Regions from separate parts of the Homo sapiens genome. Here regions 1, 2, 3, 4, 5 and 7 are each linked to region 6. Evidence: promoter capture Hi-C in 16 types of primary human blood cells and fetal thymus (Javierre and others, 2016). All regions are on one chromosome and are shown on one strand. The core of a region is centred on a gene start or on the middle of the fragment in contact, and the rest is flanking DNA. Distances in the headings are between cores, read along the strand shown.

The links. Contacts are between HindIII fragments. The CHiCAGO score rates a contact against its expected background, and 5 or more counts as called.
Region 1: a fragment that was not itself captured here is called in contact with the fragment with the promoter of USP28 in region 6 in 1 of 17 cell types (naive CD4 T cells); the score reaches 5.0 in naive CD4 T cells.
Region 2: a fragment that was not itself captured here is called in contact with the fragment with the promoter of USP28 in region 6 in 2 of 17 cell types (total CD4 T cells and naive CD4 T cells); the score reaches 5.3 in total CD4 T cells.
Region 3: a fragment that was not itself captured here is called in contact with the fragment with the promoter of USP28 in region 6 in 8 of 17 cell types (naive B cells, neutrophils, total CD8 T cells and 5 more); the score reaches 8.6 in naive B cells.
Region 4: a fragment that was not itself captured here is called in contact with the fragment with the promoter of USP28 in region 6 in 7 of 17 cell types (naive B cells, total B cells, naive CD8 T cells and 4 more); the score reaches 8.2 in naive B cells.
Region 5: a contact is called between a fragment that was not itself captured here and the fragment with the promoter of USP28 in region 6, in 5 of 17 cell types (total B cells, naive B cells, activated CD4 T cells and 2 more). The highest score is 7.7, in total B cells.
Region 7: a fragment that was not itself captured here is called in contact with the fragment with the promoter of USP28 in region 6 in 16 of 17 cell types (total B cells, naive B cells, total CD8 T cells and 13 more); the score reaches 17.2 in total B cells.

The regions. Positions count from the first base shown.
Region 1 is chr11:114,316,921-114,320,363 of GRCh38, forward strand. No RefSeq gene overlaps it. Among named protein-coding and RNA genes, the nearest start is that of NNMT, 22 kb to the left of the region's middle. The HindIII fragment of the contact is 798 bases long and covers 864-1,661 here.
Region 2 is chr11:114,335,299-114,338,408 of GRCh38, forward strand. No RefSeq gene overlaps it. Among named protein-coding and RNA genes, the nearest start is that of NNMT, 40 kb to the left of the region's middle. The HindIII fragment of the contact is 1,332 bases long and covers 1,090-2,421 here.
Region 3 is chr11:114,236,702-114,239,790 of GRCh38, forward strand. All of the region lies in intron 4 of ZBTB16 (zinc finger and BTB domain containing 16), which reads left to right. Among named protein-coding and RNA genes, the nearest start is that of NNMT, 58 kb to the right of the region's middle. The HindIII fragment of the contact is 4,626 bases long and covers 1-3,089 here.
Region 4 is chr11:114,206,002-114,209,170 of GRCh38, forward strand. The region is part of intron 4 of ZBTB16 (zinc finger and BTB domain containing 16); the gene reads left to right. Among named protein-coding and RNA genes, the nearest start is that of NNMT, 89 kb to the right of the region's middle. The HindIII fragment of the contact is 4,104 bases long and covers 1-3,169 here.
Region 5 is chr11:114,283,901-114,286,924 of GRCh38, forward strand. It overlaps a transcript of NNMT not described here. Among named protein-coding and RNA genes, the nearest start is that of NNMT, 11 kb to the right of the region's middle. The HindIII fragment of the contact is 853 bases long and covers 1,257-2,109 here.
Region 6 is chr11:113,873,873-113,876,950 of GRCh38, forward strand. USP28 (ubiquitin specific peptidase 28) reads right to left here and starts at 1,700. Exons shown (of 26, transcript NM_001346252.4): 1 at 1,573-1,700. The coding sequence starts at 1,629. RefSeq lists enhancers at 1-88, 1,675-1,969, 1,959-2,208, 2,259-2,920 and silencers at 1,399-1,758, 1,779-1,938. The HindIII fragment of the contact is 13,869 bases long and covers 1-3,078 here.
Region 7 is chr11:114,265,407-114,268,880 of GRCh38, forward strand. It overlaps a transcript of NNMT not described here. Among named protein-coding and RNA genes, the nearest start is that of NNMT, 29 kb to the right of the region's middle. The HindIII fragment of the contact is 2,784 bases long and covers 267-3,050 here.

The sequences.
Region 1 (3,443 bases), core at 13-2,512, 440 kb after region 6:
GGTACATTTATACCATGGAATACTATATGGCCATAAAAAATGAAATCATGTCCTTTGCACCAACATGGATGCAGCTGGAGGTCATTCTCCTCAGTGCAGTAGCCAGAAACAGAAAGCCAAATACCACATGTTCTCATGTATAAGTAGAAGCTAAACATGGGGTCAACATGGACACAAAGATGGGAACAATAGACAGTGGGGACTACAAAAGGGGGGACGAGGGAGAGGGGCAAAGGTTGAAAAACTACCTATTGTACTGTGATCACTACCCGGGTGATGGGTTCAATCACACCCCAAACCTCAGCATCACACGATATATCCATTTAAAAAGCCTGCACATATATCCCCTGAATCTAAAATTAAAATTGAAAGAAAAAAAAATCTTAACACTGAAAAAACTTTCTTAATGAACTGAGTATGGCCTTCAAAACCTGTCTTGCATATGCTTTCTATGCAAGTCAGCACCATAGGCACCTTGAATCCAGAGCCTTCTTCATAGTTGCTTATTCATTCAGAAGATGTTTCTTGCATCCCTGTTATGTGCTAGGCATTGGGCCTGAGATGAGGATCCTACAGTGAAGATGACGCAGTCTCTGGCCTCGTGGGACTTATTTTCCTGCAAGGAAGACCAGAAAGAAATGCACTCTGACACAGCCTGAGCAGAAATGCTAGATTTTTTTTTTGGTACTCAAGTCAGCTAGGCAGGACCTTTTGCCCACCCAAATGAGACAAACCAGGCCCTTCTTACAGCTGTACCTTCTCATGTATAGATCAGCTTCACTCAAAAAAAAATGTTGAGCTAGGATTATGTGTTTAAGGAACATTATCACAAAGAAAAACACCATTGTGAGTAAAGTCACTGAAGCTTTCTGTTTCATATCTTCCAATGAAAGCAGGGATTTAAACTTTCTGAGTCTAGCCCTCTCGTCTCCCTTGCTGGCCAGTTTCACACTGAAAGGAGATGCTTTCCTTGGCCTTTCAAACGCTTTCCTTGGCCCTCTGAGCGCCAGCAGAGGGTGCACGTGGCTCTTGTTGAAGCCCTTCATTCCTGAATTTGACCATTTACACATGAAGGAATTTAAATTGAGTTAAACCTTCCCAAACAAGACGCTTCTCTGCAGTGTCTCCTTTTTCACAGTCTACTTATGAGGCTGCTAGGAAAAGAGAAAGAGGAATTCAGCATATTTTTCTTTAACAAAAAATATGGATAATTATTTTTATGGATACACACATTTAAAAATTTCCCTTTTAGGTCTATACACAAAATGCAAATTTTAATAAACTGTAAAGAGGATCTTGGCCAGAATAGCATGAGAAATGATAACTATTAGATTATGCAGTTAACTCACCATCACCTTCTATTTGCTGTTTATTCAAAGAAGAGAAAGAAGGTTTTTGTGCTTTTTCAAACCCTAGTTTTTTAATATTTAGAAAATGAAGAAGTCTTTCTATGGCTGTGGTTGCCGGCCAAACCTCTATGCTTATCACTTTAATTTGTACTTTAATAGTGTCTGATGAATTCAGGGGAAGGGTTGAGGTTGAATTTCAAACTCTCAACAACTAATTGTGAGTTATTATTGCCTTTGTTTGGACTTCAATATTGAAAGCCAGGAAGTAGTTTCTTTCCTGGTAGGTTATTGTCTCTCTTCCTTTCAGAGAAAAGCTTTTGAATGTTTAAACAGAAGAGGAGTTAAAGAATTGTAAACACCAGTTAGGCTGCTCTTCAGAAAGATCTGTAATAGCGACCAGGTGCAGTGGCTCACCCGTGTAATCCCAGCACTTTGGGAGGCCGTGGTGGGTGGATCATTTGAGGTCAGGTGTTGGAGACCAGCCTGACCAACATGGTGAAACCCTGTCTCTACTAAAAATACAAAAAAATTAGCTGGGCGTGGTGGTGCATGCCTGTTATCCCAGCTACTTGGGAGGCTGAGGCAGGAAAACTGCTTGAACCCAGGAGATGGAGGTTGCAGCGAGCCAAGATCACACCACTGTACTCCAGCCTGGGAGACAGAGCAAGACTCTGTCTCAAAAGGAAAAAAAAAAAAAGCATCAGTAATAACAACTCACTTTGAAGCCTTCCACCTAAGCGACTGGTATTTTTCTTAAGAGCAGGTATGTAAACACTTCATTTGCATGAGGAGGAGAAAGAGGTTTCTAGAAAGGGGAGGGTAAGCAGTTAGTTTATTGCTCCTTTACCTCTCAAGGGTCCATTTCTGGCCCCTTCTCACTGCTGTCTAATATTTGTTAAATGCTATAGAAATCCCAGTCGTTGGTCAGGCACAGTGGCTCAGCACTTTGGGAAGCCATGGCAGGAGGATCACTTGAATCCAGGAGTTCGAGACCAGCCTGGGCAACAGAGCAAGAACCCGTCTCTACAAAAATATTTAAAAAAAAAAAAAAAGAAAGAAACCTCATTTGTTTAATATGACCTTTGCCCTTGCAGAATTTATAATCTTGCTTGTGAGTTAACATTTACAAAATTACCAATCAAATCCTTTTATTTTAGAGGTGAAGATATGGAGACTCTAAGGGGGCAAGGAGCTTTGCCTTTCTGTGCCTTAGTCTACTGTAAATTGAAAAGTTGAATTACATATCTGTGAAGTCCAGTGTTTTATGATTTATGAATTAGAGAACAATGCTTGTTAAAATAGAGTTCTAACTAAAGGACCACTTGGGTTAATCCCATCCTTTAAGATTCAAGTGAAATTGGCTCAAACCCCGTCCTTCATACAGCCCATAATTTCCTCTCGTCTTGCAGGGAACTGTCGGGGGCAGTGATTTGTATTTCTCCTGGTGACCCCTGGAGTGGACCTTCCACTCGGTCTGTGTTCCAGTGTGTGAATCACTCACTCCTAGCATGGGCTGATTCTTCTCTGCAGCACATGACCCCTAACCAGACCCATCCTGATCCCTTCATTTGCTAAAATTCCCCTGGCCCTCAAATATATAAGTAGCAGCCTTTGCTAAAGCCTCAAGACAACAGAAGGGGTTCATGCTTAGGACCCTATCAACTTAAAATACTTGGCATCCTTGCTGTTAATCTCATGGGGAATTTCTCAGTGACTCAACTTCTTCAGTTGACCCTGGCCATGTTGCTCTGGCATCTGTCCTCCCTTCTCTGGTCCCCAGCCCACTCCTCTTGGGCTGTTTGCCTCCCCTCCTGAATTCCTGTACTGATCTCTTATTTCACTTGCTTCTTCAAGTCGAGACCACACCCCTGGGGCTTCACTTCCTTGAAGCCTTCAAGGTGTTTTCTTTGAAAGGAACTTAAGTGCCCGTATTTAAAATTAGAAATTTCTCCCCCTTTACCTAATCAAGGGCTCGGGCTCTGAGCTTGCTAGCCTCCAAGGCAAAGAGGAGAAGTATCGGTTACAAGCTTCACTGTTCATCAGTGCAAAACAATGCTGTTCAATGCAAGCACGACTTTCCCCTGAAAACTCACT
Region 2 (3,110 bases), core at 506-3,005, 460 kb after region 6:
TAACTGATATGATAAGAAAGGAGAGAAAATTGAATCATATAAAGTTGCTAAATTAAAATAACTAAAGGCAGAACAAGAGTGAAAGACAAAAATAGAAACGAAGAACAAGGGTAACAAAAACAGTAACAAATATGATAGATATTAACCCAATTATATCAATAATCACTTTGAATATGAGTGGTCTTAAGCACAACAATTAAAAGACAGAGAATGTTAGAATGGATCAAGAAACAAGACTCAGTTACAGGTTGTCTATAAGAAACCTCCTTTAAATATAAAGACTCATATCAATTGAAAGTAAATGGATGGAGAAAGGTATACTATGCTAAAACTAATCAAAAGAAAGTGGAAGAAACTAGAACAATTTCAGACACAGAACACTTCACAGCAAGTAAAGTTATTAGGGATAAAGAGGAGCATTGCCGAATGATAAAGGGGTCAGTTCTCTAAGAAGACATAGCAATCCTTAATGTGTGTGCACCTAATAACACAGCATCAAAATACATGAAGCAAAAACTGATAGAACTGTGAGGAGAAATAGATGAGTCCACTAGTATAGTGGGAGAGTTCAACATCCCTCTATCAGAAATGGACAGATTCAGCAGGCAGAAAATCATTAAGAACATAATCAAATTCAAAAACATCATCTATAAACTGTAAATAATGGACAGCTATAAACTAGTTCATCCAGCAATAGCAGAATTCACTGTACATTCTTCTCAAGCTCACATGGAATATTCATCAAGATAGACCACATTCTAGACCACTTCATATACCTTAACAAATGTAAAAAAAAAGTAGAAATCGTAGTGTCTGCTCTCAGACCACAATGGAATTAAACTAGAAATTTATAATAGAAGGATAGCTGAAAAATCCCCCAATACTTGGAGATACAAATACAACATGTGTCTAAATAATACAAGGGTCAAAGCAGAAATCTCAGGAGAAATTAAAAAGTACTTTGAACTAAATGAAAATAACACAAGTTATCAAAAACTGTGCAGTGCAATAAAAGTAGTGCTAAGGGGGAAATTGATAGCATGGAGTGCATATATTAGAAAATAGGAAAGATTTAAAAGAAATCACCTAAGCTTTCATCTTCGGAAACTGGAAAAACAAGAGCGAACTAAATCTATACTGAACAGAAGAAGAGAAACAATAAAAATTAGAGCAGAAATCAATGAAATTGAAACAGAAAATTAACAGAGAAAAATCAATAAAACCAAAAGCTGGTTCTTTGAAAAGATCAATAAAATTAATAAGCCCATAGCCAGGCTAACTTAGAAAAAAGAGAGAGAGGAAGAACATAAATTAGTAATATCAGAGATGAAAGAGGGGACATCATTACAAAAGTCATGTACATTAAAAGGATAATAAAGGAATACTGTGAACAACTTTATGCTTACAAATTTGATAACCTAGCTAAAATAGACCAATTTCTTGAAAGACGCAATCTGCCAAAACTCACATAAGAAGTAATACACACTGAATAAGGGTATATCTATTCAACTGAAAATGAATCAATAATTAATAGCCTCCTAAAGCAGAAAGCATCAGGTCAAAATGGGTTCGCTGGTGAATTCTACCAAACGTTTAAGGAAAAAAGCACACCGATTTTCTACAACCTCTTTCAAAGATAGAAGCACAAGGAATACTTCCTAACTCATTCTATGAAGTCAACATCACCTTCATACCAAAACCAGGCAAACACATTGGAAGAAAATAAATCCGCAGTTCAATATATCTTGGCTGGGTGCAGTGGCTCACGCCTGTAATCCCAGCACTTTGGGAGGCCGAAGCGGGAGGATCACCTGAGGTCAGGAGTTCGAGACCAGCCTGGCCAATATGGCAAAACCCTGTCTCTACTAAAAATACAAAAATTAGCCGGGTGTGGTGGTGCATGCCTGTGATCCCAGCTACTACTCAGGAGGCTGAGACAGGAGAATCGCTTGAACCTGGGAGGCAGAGATTGCAGTGAGCCAAGATCACGTCACTGTACTCCAGAGAGACTCTGTCTCCAAAAAAAAAAAAAAAAAATCCACAGTTCAGTATCTCTCATGAACATAGATGCAAAAATTCTCAACAAAATGTTAACAAATTGAATCCATCAAAGTATAAAAAGAATTGTGTGCCACACCAAGGGGGATTTATCCCAGGAATGAAAGGCTGTTTCAACATTTGACAACTAATTAAGGCTATCCATCATATCAACAGGCTAAAGAACAAAATACAGATGATTACATCAATAGATGTAGAAAAAACCTTTGACAAAATCTAACACTTGCTCATGATAAAAGAAAAAGAAAAAGAAAAAAAAAACTCCTCAGTAAATGAGAAATAGAGGGGGAACTTCCTCAACTTGATAAAGAATATCTACAAAAAATATACAGATAACGTCATATTTAATGGTGAGAAATTAGAAGCTTTCTCATTAAGATCAGGAACAAGGCAAACACATACTCTCTCACCACAGCTTTTCAACATTATGCTAGAAATCCTAGCTAATGCAATGAGATAAGTAAAGAAAATGTATACTGACTGAGAAGGAAGAAATAAAACTATCTTGTTCACAAAAGACATGATTGTCTAAAAGAAAATCTGAAAGAATCAGGCCAGGTGTGGTAGCTCACGCCTGTAATCCCAGCACTTTGGGAGGCCGAGGCGGGTGGATCACAAGGTCAGGAGTTCAAGGCCAGCCTTACCAACATGGTGAAACCCCATCTCTACTAAAAATACAAAAATTAGCCAGGTGTGGTGGCGTGTGCCTGTAATCCCAGCTACTCAAGAGGCTGAGGCAGGAGAATTGCTTGAACCCAGGAGGCGGAGGTTGCAGTGAGCCGAGATCACACCACTGCACTCCAGCCTGGACGACAGAGCGAGACTCCATCTCAAAATAAAAAAAGAAAGAAAATCTGAAAAATCAAGAAAAAAAGCTCCTGGAACTAATAAACAATTATAACAAGGTTTCAGGATGCAAGGTTAATATACAAAAGTCAATCATTTTTCTGCATAGCAACAATGAACAAGTGGAATTTGATATTAAAAAGAAATTGTCATTTATATTAACAGTGCCTCAAAATAAAATACTTGGGTATAAATCTAACAAAACC
Region 3 (3,089 bases), core at 178-2,677, 360 kb after region 6:
TTGTGATTGTCTTACAACCCCTTATTTATTTTCTAATTCAACATGCAGTTATTAAGTGCCTACTCCATATCAGGCTGTGTACTGTGTGTTGGGGAATATAAAGATGAATACAATAGTTCCTACTTTGGAGGCTTATAATCTATTAGGCAGAGCTGAAAGTCCAAAATAAATGCAATACAGGGCTTTACGTGATACAACAGAGCTCAGAGGAAGATGGTGTTGTTGGCACTGAATCCTAAGTGGTGTAACTCCTCAAAGATGCCTTCTCTAGGGTCAGCTTCCCAGAAAGTAGCAGCCCAAAGACAACAAAACAGCTTAGGCATGTGTATTGTGCAGGGCTGCCATGACTCATGATCCAGGTCGTTCACTGCACAAGGGTGCCCAGCTGAGGAGGGAAGATCCCAAAACCCTGCCCTCTCTGTACTCACCATAAATATGCAGCCAGGTCTGTGGGGCTGGCCAGAGGAGGAGACGTGATTTTCTAATTCAGATGAAGGTGTTGTTTGGCCATCATTGGCTCTGTGACCACATTATAAAGTTTTTTCGTGTGGATATCTCATTCGATGTTCTTGATAACCACAGTGGCAGATAAGGAGCAAATGGATCTGGTGAAAAGAATGACTTGCTCGGGGCCACAAGGCAAGTATGTGGGAGAGCTGGGACCCCTGTGCTGCTTTTCCTTCCCCTGTGTCATGTGGACCATCTGACTTCTGAGGGTCTCGTTTATCCAGTCAGAGCACCTCCCCTCTCCCCAGTGGTACCAGGCCTGACGTCTCTCCATAGCAGAGGACGGAACCCAGGCGTTGAAGGGAGCAGAGCGTTCCAGTGCTGCCGGGCCCCCCTGCCCCGCCGCACATCTCACTGCAGCTAATGAATTGCTAATACAATTTTCTAGATAATTTTATTTCCATAGTCCCACATTTTAATGTGTTTCCAAAAGCTAGCATTTATTTGCTTAATCTCCCAGTGTAATAGAATCTGCCCTGACTCATCATACATGCGAACAATCAGCTAGGCTGAAACGCCAGCAAATTGTTTAATAACTCACATCTAGTCTCTAGATTTTTAACTCGCATGCACCAATAGCTTTTCTTGTGTCTCATCCACATCTCCCCCACTTTTCCATTTTTTTAAAAATACTTTTCTATCATCATAGCTGTTAGTTTCTAAGCAGAAAAATGGGGAAAGTGGATGCTGAGTCTCAGAGGCTCCCCTTTCTTCCCCTGGGAGCCTTGGTTGGTGGATACGTGACCAAGGAGCACCCCTGCACCTTGTGGAATGTCCCAGGAAGGGGAGAGAGACCACTGTAGGGACATCATAGTGTTTCCTTTCCAGCTGGTGACCATATGACTTCCAGCCTGTTGGCCAGTTGTGGAACTGGCCATCTGGGATTTTTTGCGTGCCACTCCTCCCTTGCTGTCCCACCTTTCTAGGATTTTCTCTCTCCCTTTGCCCTGGCAGCCTCTGCCCTGGTCTGGTCCCTACCCTCCTCCAGTGGCCCATCAGCCCTCTCGCTGCTTCTAACCGCTTGCTGCTGCTGTTGGTCCCCATGTGTGCCCAGAGTCACTGGCTTCAAACACAGGTCAGATCGTGCTAGCACCACTCGTCTTAGTCAAGTCAGGCTGCTATAACAAACTGCCACGGACTGGGTGGCTTATACACAGCAGACATGCATTTCTCACAGCTCTGGAGGCTGGGAAGTCTGTGATTGGGGTGCCAGCATGTTCAGGTTCTGGTGAGGGTCCTCCTCCTGGTTGCAGACTGCTGATTTCTCGGTGTCCTCACGTGGTGGAAGGGGCTAGCTAGCTCTCTGGGCCCTCTTTTACAAGGACACTCATTCCATTTTAATTACCTAATTATCTCTCCCAGGCCCCACTTCCTAATACCATCACCTTAGGGGTTAGGATTTCAAAAAAGGAATCAGAGGGGGACCCAGACATTAGGATCATAGCAACCCTCGGTCCTTTCATGGCACTGCATTGCCTGTAGAATAAAGTCCAACCTGTCCTGCCTGGCATATGCAGCCCTCTGATCTGACTCCCATCACCCTCCCAGCTTGTCTCCATCCCCAGGGCCTGACCTTGGCCCCATCTGCTCTGACATTTGCCAGTGGTGTCTCTCTCCTTAGCCTGGCACATGTGTCCCAACTTCTTGTCCTTTGCTTCTCAGATACTCAACTTTTAAAAGCCTAACTCAAAATCTCAGGAGCTCTTGGAGTCGCCCTGCCTTACCCTCTGGGTGGTTGTTAACTCAGCATCTCCCACTAGTCTGGGACCCAGTTTCTCTGCTCAGCCTTAGCCTGCCCCTGGTCACCTAGCACAGTGCCTGTACTTGGTAGTGGCTCAGTGAGTTGGCTGAATGGACATGAAGTGGGTTCAGGCCACCCTGAGAAGTAGGGACAGCATAGTGGGGCAGTATCGAGGGGCCTTGGAAAGGCCAAGGGGGCAGAGTGCTGCAGTCTGCCTTGCTGGGTGTATTGACACTCAGAGCACCTGTGGGTCTGGCTGTATAGGCTGAGATGTCCTATTGGGAATGCCATTCATGTTCCCTCTGCCCAGGTTCCTTCCATGCCGGGGATCTCAGAGGATGCATAAGGAGAAGCCTTGGCTCTTAAAGGGCATGGCTGGCCTCCAAAGCCTACTCAACCCTACTGATTTAAGGTAGCTGTTTGAACACCTGGCTTAATTTGGGCTCTCTGTGGGGTGGGGGTTAAGGGCAGAGAGGGAGTAGATGCTGGGGGCTCTCAAGTTGAAGGAGTGGGGGCCACCGGGCACAGAACGCATTGCAGATGCACTGTCCTCCTGTGTACGTCGGCCAAGCAGGGAGGGACATTGAAGACTCACTGTCAACTCTTGGCATTGCTTCTGTCCAGAAAGATACATCTCTCATTATGTCTCCCTCCAGCAAGTGAAGCTGAGTAGACTACTCAGCATTTCTGAGAGACCTTGGTGGCTCCCAGTGGGATTGGAAGGCCTCAGAGAGCTATGCCTTGTGACCCAGCCCCAGCTACTGCCCACTCCTGGCCAGGGGTTCTCTAGCCATTGCTGGAGCTGTACTAGAGGCAGGAGTCCTCTGTACCATCCTTACTG
Region 4 (3,169 bases), core at 482-2,981, 330 kb after region 6:
CTCCCTAGCTTAGATTCCTTGTTCTGGGACACCCACTGGGCCCCAAATCTTAAGCTCCTGGATGTCAAGAGGGAGCCTGGCTGCTACTCAGAAAGAGGACTTGTCTCATCTAGTACCAAGTCATGGTGCCATATCGCCAACCTTTCAAAAGTAGAGTCTGGAATTGCCATTTACATATACTGAGCCCAGTGTTGGGGTGTTTTCACATCGGGAGACACTAATTAGGGGTCCTAGAATTCTAAAATCTGTAGACTCCTAGACTGCAGAACTGTTGCAAGGGGCTTTAGGGAGCATGATGCTGAGCTTCAGAGGGGTTCTGGGATTTGTCTGGGATCACACAGCAGGCTAGAGAGAGACACTGTGGGCTAGAACCCAGGAATCCCTGGTCTTAGACCACTGCTTCTGTCCCTCTACCCACAACTCTGTGCCATCTCCAGAAAAGCTCCTCTTTCCCTTTCCTGGAAATCCCCAGAGTAGGAGATTCTGCCCCCAGGCAGCCCTCCTTGGCCGTCTGTGAGTCAGGGTCTGCACCAGGGCTCTGTATGGGCCTGAGGAGCCCCCATAGCAAGCCTGATGCTGATGGCCTGGAGTTCCTCAAACCTCACTTTGCCTGCTAGCTGTGCTGTTCTAAGCATTCTGTACATTTTTACAAAATAGAAAAATTAGGGCTCAGCCCGCTTTCAGAAAGCTAACTATTGCTAGGGAGGAAAACATACATATCTAAAAAGATAAGTAATAAAACAAGGCAATTGGATGTGATATACCTGCACTAAGAATTGAGGAGTGATGTTTTTAGGTTCCCCATCCCTTTGTCTGCCCAAAATCCAGTCTGCTGTGGCTAGACACCTATGGCTTCTGCACACAGCATTTCCCCCATGTTACTTCTCTGTCTGATCTCTCAGGTGCCCTTGGTTTGACAGCTGCAGCTTGTTGGTCTGAAGGCAAGTGACACTGGGAAAGGACCCTAGTGAGAGGTTTATCACATAAGACCCCAGGATGGCGGCATGCTCTGTTTTTGAACGACTGCCTCATTCCTGTAAGACAAAGGTGGCAATGGAGGGTGGATGCAGAGTTGATGGCTGCAGCCCAAGTTTTGGTGCTTGGCCTCATGTGTTACATCCTAGGTAAGGATGTCTCTGCCATCTTAACACCCATACCTGCTCTTGCGTCTCTCTCTCTTATCCTTCAAAGCATCATCATTGTCTTACCCCAGCTACACAGTGAAATCATTTAGAGGAACTTTATGAAAAAAATGTATTAATAGCAAGCAAAGGTTCCCACCTCAACCCGGATGAGTCAGAACCTCCTGCATGGGGCTCAGACATGGATGTATTTTCAAGCTCCCCAGGAGATTCCTATGGATAACCAGGGTTTTGAATTTCCAGATGGGATAAGATTAGACTCTGCTGCGTGGCCCAGAAGGTTCCTCACAATCAGAGTCACAGGCCTCATCTTTTGTCACCCCCTATGATGCGTGTACACTGAGCCACTTAGAATTTCCCAGACTCTCCTGGCTGTTTTTCTCCTCCATGCATCTTCCACTAACCCCCACACTCTCATGTGTCTTGTTTGCCTGATACACACACACAACACACACACACACACACACACACACACACACACACATATTGAGGCAGAGTTTCACTTTGTCACCCAGGCTGTAGTGCAGTGGCAAGATCTCAGCTCACTGCAACCTCCGCCTCCTGGGTTCAAGCGATTCTCCTGCCTCGGCCTCCTGAGTAGCTGGGATTACAGGCATGCGACACCACACCCAGATAATTTTTGTATTTTTAGTAGAGACAGGGTTTCACTATGTTGACCAGGCTGGTCTCGAACTCCTGACCTCAAGTGATCCTCCTGCCTTGGCCTCCCAAAGTGCTGGGATTACAGGCGTGTGCCACCATGCCCAGCTAATTTTTGTATTTTTATTAGAGATGGAGTTTCACTCTGTTGGCCCGGCTTGTCCCGAACTCCTGACCTCAGGTGATCCACCCACTTCGGCCTCCCAAAGTGTTGGGATTACGGGTGTGAACCACCACGCCTGGCCTTGCCTGCCTGGTATTAATAGAGTCTTCTCAGCTCATTTGTCTTCTCTATGACACCCTTTTCACAGTTGACCCTCCTTCTGGTCTCCAGCACCATAGATGTACACCACTTGCCCTTAGCTATCTTGCCACTGCACGAGTTAGGGTGAAGATTGAACCACCTTGGGGACTTGGGCCTTTCTACTGTGTTAGTTCAAATAATCATTCAATAAATGCTTATTGCATGATTAATCAAAAACAGAAAAGGGAGCTTCCTGATTAGAAGCAGGAATGAAGAATCTGTTCTTGTCTGGCTTCAGATTTTTGCTCTTCACTTGCCAGGTGAAGGACCTTGGAAGAGTCACTCATCCTTTGCAAGTCTCAGATTCCTTGTCTGAAAAATTAGGACACCATACCTGCCCTTTATACCTCAAAAAGGGATGTGAGGACCAAAATGGTCTTAGAACAGGGTAGGGTCTTTGCAAGCAGTAAAGCATGATTCAGATGTAAGGTGATGTCATTGTGATGTTTCCTCTTGCTGTGGTTTCCTGTCATGGGCTCTGGCTTCAGGGTGCCCTGCAATGCCAATGCACCCCAGTCTGTGCCCTCTGCACAGCCTCCCATCCCAGCTTTTCTGGGCCCTTTTCTTCCGTTGGCTTCTTTTATCTTGCACCTACCTTGCTTTCTCCCTGCACGTACCACCACCACAAATGCTGTACAAGAGCAAGTTAACCACTATTGTTTGGAATGATAGAGAAAATAATGAGGGAAACAGACTGGTCCATTCAGTGATTAAGTATTCAGTAATTAAGTATTCAGTGTTAGGTGGTGGGCAGAAGTTAGGAAGAAAGGTATCTTAAGGTTTTTGATTCGGCGTCATCCGAATGGGTCAATGAGACAGATTCCACAGGCAAACCATTCCAGATCCATAACCTCTAGAGTAGAAAGTTTCAGAAGGAAGAGATTCCCCAAACTGTGTAATTCCCTTGTAAATCTCATTCATTCAATGGGATTTGAGAACCAACCACTTGTGCAGGTGCCCGCATCCGAAGATAACTTGCCCCCAGGAGACAGCAGATAAGAAGAGGGCAGAGACAAAGGAGGTCTTTTTGCGACTTGCATCATGGATGCAGAAAAGGTGGATA
Region 5 (3,024 bases), core at 433-2,932, 410 kb after region 6:
AGAAGAGTGAACTTCATAATCTTGATATTTGTATAGCATTAGTAGTGATAGGACAGATGTCCTAAATAGGTATCGTACCGTTACAGTAATTAGTAGGAAGCAAAGAAAAATCAATGGAACAGAGCAGATAGCCCTAAATCAGGTCCCAGTAAGTTTTGTAAGTAAGCATGTGACAAAGGAGCAACAAGCCGAGGAGGAAAGGAAACAAAGCAAAATAGTGCAGATAGCACAGAAGCCACTCAGGTTTTCAGCTTTTGCCAGCAGGATATTAGGGAGGCTCCACCCTGATTTCCAGCCTCTCTGTGCCAGGCAGATGTGGATCTCCAGCAAGCTGGCCACCTGCCACAGCAACACTGCTGGTACCTGGCTCTGCCAAAGGCCCTATCACCCTGGATGCCATCTGCCTGCAATTTACAAACTGTATAGGAGGGGTAGGTCAGGCCTGGACACCTCGTGGCTGGACTATGGAAACTGGTCCTGGCTGAGGCTCAGGAATTGCTTTCCTTTCCAAGTAGTCCTCAACCACCTTCACCCCAACATGGTTTTTTTTGTTTGTTTGTTTTTGTTTTTTGTTGCTGTTGTTTTTCTTGAGATGGAGTCTTGTCCAGGCTGGAGTGCAGTGGTGCTATCTTGGCTCACTGCAACCTCCGCCTCCTGGGTTCAAGCAATTCTCCTGCCTCAGCCTCCCAAGTAGCTGGGACTACAGGCATGTGCCACCACACCCGACTGATTTTTGTATTTTTAGTAGAGACGGGGTTTCACCGTGTTAGCCAGGATGGTCTCGATCTCCTGACCTTGTGATATGCCCACCTTGGCCTCCCAAAGTGCTGAGATGACAGGCGTGAGCCACTGCACCCGGCCATCTTTTTTTTTTTTTTTTTTTTTTTTGAGCAGAGTATTGCTCTGTCACCCAGGCTGGGGTGCAGTGGTGTAGTCTCTGCTAACTGCAACCTCCACCTTCTGGGTTCAAGTGATTCTCCTGCCTCAGCCTCCCAAGTAGCTGGGATTACAGGTGCATACCACCATGACGGGCTAATTTTTGTATTTTCAGTAGAGACAGTTTCATCATGTTGGCGAGGCTGGTCTTGAACTCCTGATCCGCCCACCTCAACCTCCAAAAGTGCTGGGATTACAGGTGTGAGCGACTGTGCCTGGCCCCAACATGTCTTTTCTCCCATCACGCTTCTTCTTCCTTTAGCCAAGAAGCTTGCCACCTTACACCCTTCCTCTCCCTCCCTCCTTGGCATCCTTCTCAAAGCTTTCTGTAACCTGAACAATGGATTTAGAAGCCAGTGAAAATATTTGAGACGCTGGAGTATTGATAACCAGATAATTAGATAACTAGAGTTTCTGGCTGAATCAGTGTCTTTGTGGCTATGGATTTTCAACCCAAAGCTCTACGAGAGGGCACACTGTGAGAACCAGGCAGAAGGCAGCCCTCTGCGTACATACAGTGACGCCCTTATGGTCTGCAGCCTCATTTTTACCCCAAAGGTAGCCATGACTTAAGAGTGACAAAAGAGAGAAGCTGACAGGTTGTGGACTCCAAGAAAGGGTTCTCTACCTCCCTGCAATTAAGGCTCATATTAATCAGCTCTGGACTCACCATATGCATCCACTAAAATCTAGAGCAGGCCCTGCGGGAGCACATCAAATTTGATGGGTTATAGTTTTGGTGATAATTTTGTTTATTTGTTATTAATTACCAAGCACATGAAATGCTCCCAAATTACTGATGCCTCTTACTCCAGGAGTTGCTTAATTTGGCTCTGCCTTGGAATTCTTTCCTGGCGACTCACGCCTGCCACAAGGTATGGTTTGAGCAGAGAAAGAGGAAGAGGCTCAGTAGTTGCTTCTCTGCAACATATGTGAATACCCCACCCACAATTGCAGCAGGAAGAGGTGAAGGGAGCAGGCTCCTAATTGCTGTGGCGTACCCAGGGGTACATTTCTTTCTTGGAGATAAGCAGAAGGCAAGGAGTGTCAAATGAGAGATCACTGCCTACAGAAGTCTGTGTCATCTCTGAAGCATCCTGGGGCCCTCTGATCTACAGTAGGCCTTGATGTCATCTGAGGCACAGAAGGACTTCTTCCAGCATTGGAAAGAAAAGCTTGGAAGGAAAGCTTCAGCTGCAGTTTCTGTAATGTTCTCCTCCATCCTTGCCCCATTTTTGCAGAGATCGTTGTTTATCCTTTAGTACCATTGAGTACCATTTAGCCCCACTGGGTAAAATTGAGTGAAAAAGAAACACTAGGTCCTGCCTCAGAGAGGAAACTTGGGAAGACCAATATTATCAAGTAGACTTGATCTCTAAATTTGTGCTTGTTTCGAGGGACTCTGCGTCTGGATATGCAGGATGTTTTTTAAATTGTGAGATGCATCTACAGAAAAGTTCATAGAACATTTACATAGAGCATAAAGGTTAATATAAAATGCATGAGCACTGGTTAGCATTGCAGGATTTTTGAAGCACCCTCTTCCCCCTGTGTTCTGTAACCTGAGCACAACTTTGTCCTCCCCAGTCACCCACAGGCAACCACTATCCTGGCATCTAATGAAATTATCTCATTGTTTTTCTTTAGTTTTCCCACCCACTTGTGCATCACTAAATAATAAAATTTACTTTTGTTTGTTTTGGACTTTTGGACTTTATAGATTGAATAAAAAGGAAGTCTTTCTTGGGACTTTCTTCTTTCGCCCTACATCATTTGGAGAATCATCCATGCTGATGCTTGTAGTTCTAATTGGTTCATTTTCATTGCTGTACACTCCAATTTATTCTACCATTGTTGGACTTTTAGGTTGTTTCTAGTTGGGGGCTGTTCCAAACAATGCTGCTAAGAACATTCATGTTTATGTGCCAGATTTTTCTCTAGGTGTGTACCTGGACTGTAATTACTGGGCATAGGGTACGCAGCAACTCAACTCTACCAGTCAATGCCAGACTGTTTTCCATAACGCTGCACCAAGTTACATGCCTGCTAGAAATACACAAGGACATCTATTGGTCAAGGCCTTTGGTG
Region 6 (3,078 bases), core at 450-2,949:
TGGTTCACGCCTGTAATCCCAGCACTTTGGGAGGCCGAGGCGGGCGGATCATGAGGTCAAGAGACCGAGACCATCCTGGCCAACACAGTGAAATCCCATCTCTACTAAAAATACAAAAATTAGCTGGGCGTGGTGGCACGCGCCTGTAGTCCCAGCTACTCGGGAGGCTGAGGCAGGAGAATCGCTTGAACCCGGGAGACGGAAGTTGCAGTGAGCCGAGATCGCGCCACTGCACCCCAGCCTGGGCGACAAAGTGAGACTCCGTCTGGAAAAAAAAAAAAAAAAAAAGTGCGTCCAGACTGGGCGCGGTGGCTCACGCCTGTAATCCCAGCACTCTGGAAGGCCGAGGCGGGCGAATCACCTTAAGTCGGGAGTTTGAGACCAGCCTGACCAATATGGTGAAACCCCGACTCTACTAAAAATACAAAAATTAGCCGGGCCGGTGGCAAGCACCTGTAATACCAGCTACTCAGGAGGGTGAGGCGGAGGATGCAGTGAGCCGACATCGCGCCACAGCACTCCAGCCTAGGCAACAGAGGGAGACTCTGTCGAAAAAAAAAAAAAAAAAAAAAAAAAAGTGTCTCCATGCTAAATACTACTGGCCTTCCAGACAAAAGAGTAAAAAGGTATAAAAGGATTCTCACCTGAGGGTATCTGTCTGCCAGCTTTGTACGACAAATATAGTTTCTCATCTCCAAACTCGTATTTGAACAACTGGCACAGATTTCCCGTTTTCTCTTGAAAAAGTGCAGTACTTGAGGGGTGAGGAGGTGGTGTTAAGTTATAACATTCCGAAGTAACACTAGAAGACATGCTCAAATTGCCCTCTTCCCAAGTTTCTTCATACAGACATTAGCTTTTCTCTCAAACCAGGGTTCTTTCACTCTCACCAGATTCTTAGATCAGAAGTCCTTATATTGATTTCAATCTTCTTAGACATTGGGAACAGGAGATCATCATCAGTAGACTTTCTATTCATCACGCAGCTCCTCCCCCTCCTTAAAAATCTAGAGCGATGAAGGCAATAATTGGGGAGGCTGCGCTGTTTTGTTTTTAAAGCCGGGTTGGGAGGGAGGGAAGTGGTGGTAACTGGGACCCCTGGTCTTATAGAAGACGGTGATTAATTCCGGACTTTAAGTGAGATAACTTCGGTCTGCTTTAACCTTTTAAAAACGCCGCCATAAAACTGATTTAAAAGTCAAAGCAAAACAAAACCAACCAACGCTGCCGCTTTCGGAAGTTTCTCACCCCGGACGGGGCCCAGGAGGGCTCACCTTACTGATCCCTGCGGCGGAGAACCCCACGTCCAGCCCTTTATATTTGGTTTTCCAAAATCTGGAAATCCCCCTACAACTTCAGCTCGCCCACGGACGCGAAGATGCAGTCCTCAATCTCCGCGGCCCGAGCCCCGCAGAGCCCTTGGCCTTCTCACCCACGCTGGCGGGCGCACCCCCTGTCCCGCCCGGCCGGGGCGCCCTCCGCAGCCCGCAACCCGCAGCCCTGCAGGCCCCGCACGCTCCCCTCAGGGCCTGGAGCCCGCCCCCAGCTCCCGCTCGCCGCCGCGGAGCCCACCGAGCCGTGGCCGTCTGCCGCGCCGGCCGCGTCGTCCTGCTGCAGCTCCGCAGTCATGGCCGAGGCGCCCAGCCGCGGGTCACCGGTCTCCCGCCGCAGCCGCCGCCGGCCCAGCCTCTCAGGACTAGGCCCCGCCCCCGCCCTCCACCCCGCTCCGTCCCGCCCCCGCCCGCAGCGCGCGCCGGAGGCTTGGCCCACATGCCCCGCCCCCGGCATGCGCGCGCACGCAAGGCGCGCGGCCCGGGGCCGAACAGTTCTGCGTGCTCCCGCGCACGCCCGGCTGACCAGACGTCGGTCACGTGATCCCGGCCCCGCCTGTCGCTGTTGGTCAGCTTCACAGCCGGTGGAGGCTGCGGGCCGCGCTGCCAGTGTCCGGGAACTGGGTTTGCGAATCCTGGGAGCCGCGTTCCTGAGTCTTCTCCGCTCTCTGCCCTCAAAACCTCATTTGTAGGACTGACCTCCGGCTCCACCCTCCCCACGGGCGAGTTAAAACTGTTCCCCCGCCGTGGGAAACTGCCGAATGACCGTGGAATAAAGGATTTCCCATCAGGCTTTGTAGCCATTTCCAACTCCAATGACATGAAGAAGTGTTCACCATCTTTAAGGAGAGAAGGAGGATGAATGCAGTCGCTTGTCTAAAGCTAACCAAACGGACCAAAGCCTCCGTTCATGGGTGTCCCGCTTGGTGCCCTTAACCCTGATGCTCTTAACCTGGGCATGATAAGGAAAATTGCAGTTTTTCCATTTTCGATTTTCAGAAGTTCAAACTAAAATTTTGTGTTACTTTGTTACGTTTGAGCCAGATATTTACGATTTCATGTTAAAAGACCAGGTGCTCCTATTGAATTGTTTTTTGTTTGGTTGGTTTCGGTTTGTTTTTTTTTTTTTCTTTTTTTTTGAGACGGAGTCTCACTCTGTCCCCTCAAGCTGGAGTGCAGCCGCACGGTCTCGGCTCACTGCAACTTCCGCCTCCTGGGTTCAAGCGATTCTCCTGAGTAGCTGGGATTACAGGCACGCTGTACCACACCCAGGGTTTCACCATGTTGCCCAGGCTGGCCTCGAATTCCTGACCTCAGGTGATCCGCCCGTCTCGGCCTTCCATAATGCTGGGATTATAGGCGTGAGCCACCGCGCCAGGCCTGAATTGTATTTTCAACAACTGTGTGGGAATTGTGATTACTGAACCATGTTTCACATTTAAGATACAAATGTGTTATGATGGCAAACCCACTTGACAGGCTGCTGGGTGTCCCAAATCTGCGTAGAGGCTGAGTGTGGAAGCGCGTCTTTTAAGAGTAGCACCTACACCCTTGCCCTGGTCTGGTCTGACTCTCAAGCTACACTTTTAAGTGTGAATTTAACATGGACGGTGGCCTTTCCTATACTCCTGGCATTGTTGTCGCTGGGATTGTTATGTTTCACCTGCAGGCCTCCCTAGTCTGCATGCGGGCGCAGTTTTTGACAAAAGGAAACAGGTACAGGTCAGGTGCAGCTCCCAGGAGAGGC
Region 7 (3,474 bases), core at 409-2,908, 390 kb after region 6:
CATCTTCTTCTGCTGGAGCTCTGGATATTAGACAGTCTCTGAAAAGTTCCTTGATGCTTTTACTTTGTCTAGCTACATTCTCCCCCACCCTGATGTCTCATCTATTTCTGTTGCTTTTAGAGTGTACCTCTGGGAGATTATTCCTTAACTGTTCCCTGGCCACGTTTGAAGTGAGTCCTGGGATTGAGTCTGCCTTGGGACAGTGTGGCTTTCAGGACCAGCCCAATTCCTGCTTGTGCAAATCTGGGAGACTGAGTGTGGTTTTAAGCTTTGAGAGTCAAAGACATTATCAGGCCAGGTTCATGGACTTTTGGCAATTCAATTTCTCCGAAAATAGCCTTTGGCTGTATTTGCTTCCAATCGATTTCTTACGCCAGTAACCCATTAACCATGATTAAAGTTCTTTCCTCAACTTAGTTGTCCAATCTGTTATTATTATTATTATTATTCTGCACCGCCAAGTCTCCTTGTCAACTTCCTGGTGGTTACCTTGGGGTCATCTGCGAGTCAGCTTGGGTGGGAAAAGCAACACCTTTAATCTGATGTTTGTCACAGTACTGAGTCTCTTTGTAAGAGAATTTTTAATAATGAGCCTTTAATGCTTGAAGCCTTTTCCAGTTTCATTCCTGTAATTTAGGGTCCAGAAGCAGGTAGCTTTCCTATATCCAAGAAAACCCAAATTTTTGGATTTTCCTCCTACTTACATTCATTTCTTCTCGGGAAATTGTCAGTTATTACCTGAACACATCTCTTCATAGTAATATCTTGCTACAAACGCTGAGGAGCAATCAACACGTACTAATATTATGTCCCCCACCCCACCTCGCTGTTTCCCTTAGAGCTATAGGCTTAGTATATACTTGGCTTAGTCTACCTTTTAAGTAGTTGCACTCAAGAGTTTTCCTAAATGTTTTACTTATGCCTATCACAGGGCTCTTTCTAACTAGCTATCTTGCTCTTCTTCTGCCAGCAAAGGCTCTAAATAAACCTGCCACTGTCTACCTTTCTGACCGTCTTCTTCCACTCTTTTCCCACCTCTATACCCAGCCTCACTGTGATTCATTTGTTTCCAGAACAGGACAGGCCTTTGCATGTGCTGTTCCCACTGCCAAGAGCTCCTTGCCCACCCCCACCCCCAGTCCCACCCCATATCTTTGCATGGCTGCCTCCTTCACATATAATTTGGGTCTTAGCTCAAATATTGCCTCTCAGTGGGGTCTTACCTGACCATCTGCTATGGTTTGAATGTGTCCCCCAGAAGTTTATGTGTTGGAAACTTAATTCCTCTGCCCTCTTGAATGGATTAATATTATCATGGGAGTAGGTTTCTTACCTTGATAGTGGCTTTGTTAGAAAAACAAGCTCTCTCTGGCTTGCTTGCTCTGTCTTGCCATGCAATTCTTTCACCATGTGATGAGACGGCATAAAGGCCCACACCAGATGGCTGGTGCCATGCCCTTGGACTTCCTAGCCTCCAAAACCATGAGCTGAATAAACTTTTATTCTTTGAAAAATGATATTTAGTTATAACAAGAGAAAATAGACTGAGAAACCATCCCATCTATAGTTTGTTTTCAGCTGGGCACGGTGGCTCACACTTTTAATCCCAGCACTTTGGGAGGCCAAGGTAGGCAAATCATCTGAGGTCAGGAGTTCGAGACCAGCCTGGCCAACATGGTGAAACCCCATCTCTACTAAAAACACAAAAATTAGCTGGGCGTGGTGGTGCACACCTGTAATCCCAGCTACTCAGGAGGCTGAGGCAAGAGAATCACTTGAACCCAGGTGGCAGAGGTTGCAGTTCACCAAGATCACGTCACTGCAGTCCAGCCTGGGTGACAGAGCGAGACTCCATCTCAAATAAATAAATAAACAAATAAATAAAAATCAAGTTTGTTTTTCCTAGCATTTACCACTGTTTGATATGATCTTCTTTATTTGTTTACTTGTCATGGTTCATGTCCTAGTCTCCTGCATGTGGACCCTGTGAGAGCCAGGGCCTTGTCTGCCACCATATCCTTGATGTTATGAACTGTGCTTGCCACACAATTGTTATGACTACAAATGCCAATACCTACATAATACTCATTGTATGCCAGCCACCGTATTAGTTCGTTGTTAAAAATATTTTAATATTTTTAATGAATTACATATATTTCTAATATACATAAAAATAGAATAATATGATCAACCCCACATAATGCCCGTCACCCAGATTCAACATCATCCAGATTCTGCCACACTTGCTTCACCTATTCTTCTGTCTTTTGTTCCTTTTCTGTCTTTCGTTTCTTTTTCCTGTCTTTTGTTTCTGCTGAAATATTTTAAAGAAAATCCCAGACATCGTGTTGTTTCACCACGACATACTCCAATTCATGCATTTTTCAAAATGAATTTTTCTCATTTAACCTCAGTGCCATTTATATCTTTCCAAAATTAGGAATGGTTCCTCCGTATCCTCACTCAGTCTGTATTCAGATTTTCCTGATTGCTTCAAAAATAACTTTTTAAAGTTGATTTATTTGAATTAAGAGCCAAATCATACCCACATACTGCATCGATTTGTTATTTCTCTTAAGTTTCATTTTCCCCATGCTGTTAACTTGTTGTAGAAAGCGGTGATTATTATTATCTATTCAGTTATGAGATGATGAGGGCCTGAAATGGGGCTGGGTAGTAGGAGTAAAAGGAGGAAACGATCTGAAGAGACCTTATGGAGCAGAGTCATCTGGTTAACCCAGCTTTAGGCCAGTGGAGTGGCGACATCGCTGACCTTTCTGAGACACCTGGGAGCTACAAGATCAACAGTGACCTTGTTTCCTCTTACAGGGTCCCTAGTGTGACAACTGAAGGGAACTTCACAGATGAGCTAATTGTACCTTTTGTTTTAGTCCTTTTTCCAGCCTCTCCCAGCTAGGCAGAACATCTGTACAGTCCTCCCACTTGTTCACAGAGTTCCCTCTTTATCTTGCATCCTCTGGAGCTTGTTAGGAGAGGGTCAGCCTCCATACATGGGACTTACCATGGTTCCCAAACCAGCCATGCAACCAAGCTTATGATTGCTTAAAAATATACTACAACAGACCAGGCGCGGTGGCTCACGCCTGTAATCCCAGCACTTTGGGAAGCCGAGGTGGGCGGATCACGAGGTCAGGAGATCAAGACCATCCTGGCTAACAAGGTGAAACCCTGCCTCTACTAAAATACAAAAAATTAGCTGGGCGTGGTGGCACACGCCTGTAGTCCCAGCTACTCGGGAGGCTGAGGCAGGAGAATGGCGTGAACCTGGGAGGCGCAGCTTGCAGTGAGCCGAGATCGCACCACTGCACTCCAGCCTGGACGATGGAGCGAGACTCCGTCTCAAAAAAAAAAAAAAAAAAAAAAACTGAAACAGCTGGTTCCCTGCCTTAGAGCTCCTGAATCAGAATTTGTGGGCATGCTACCTGGGAATCTGAAAGCAGCTGTGTCATAGGT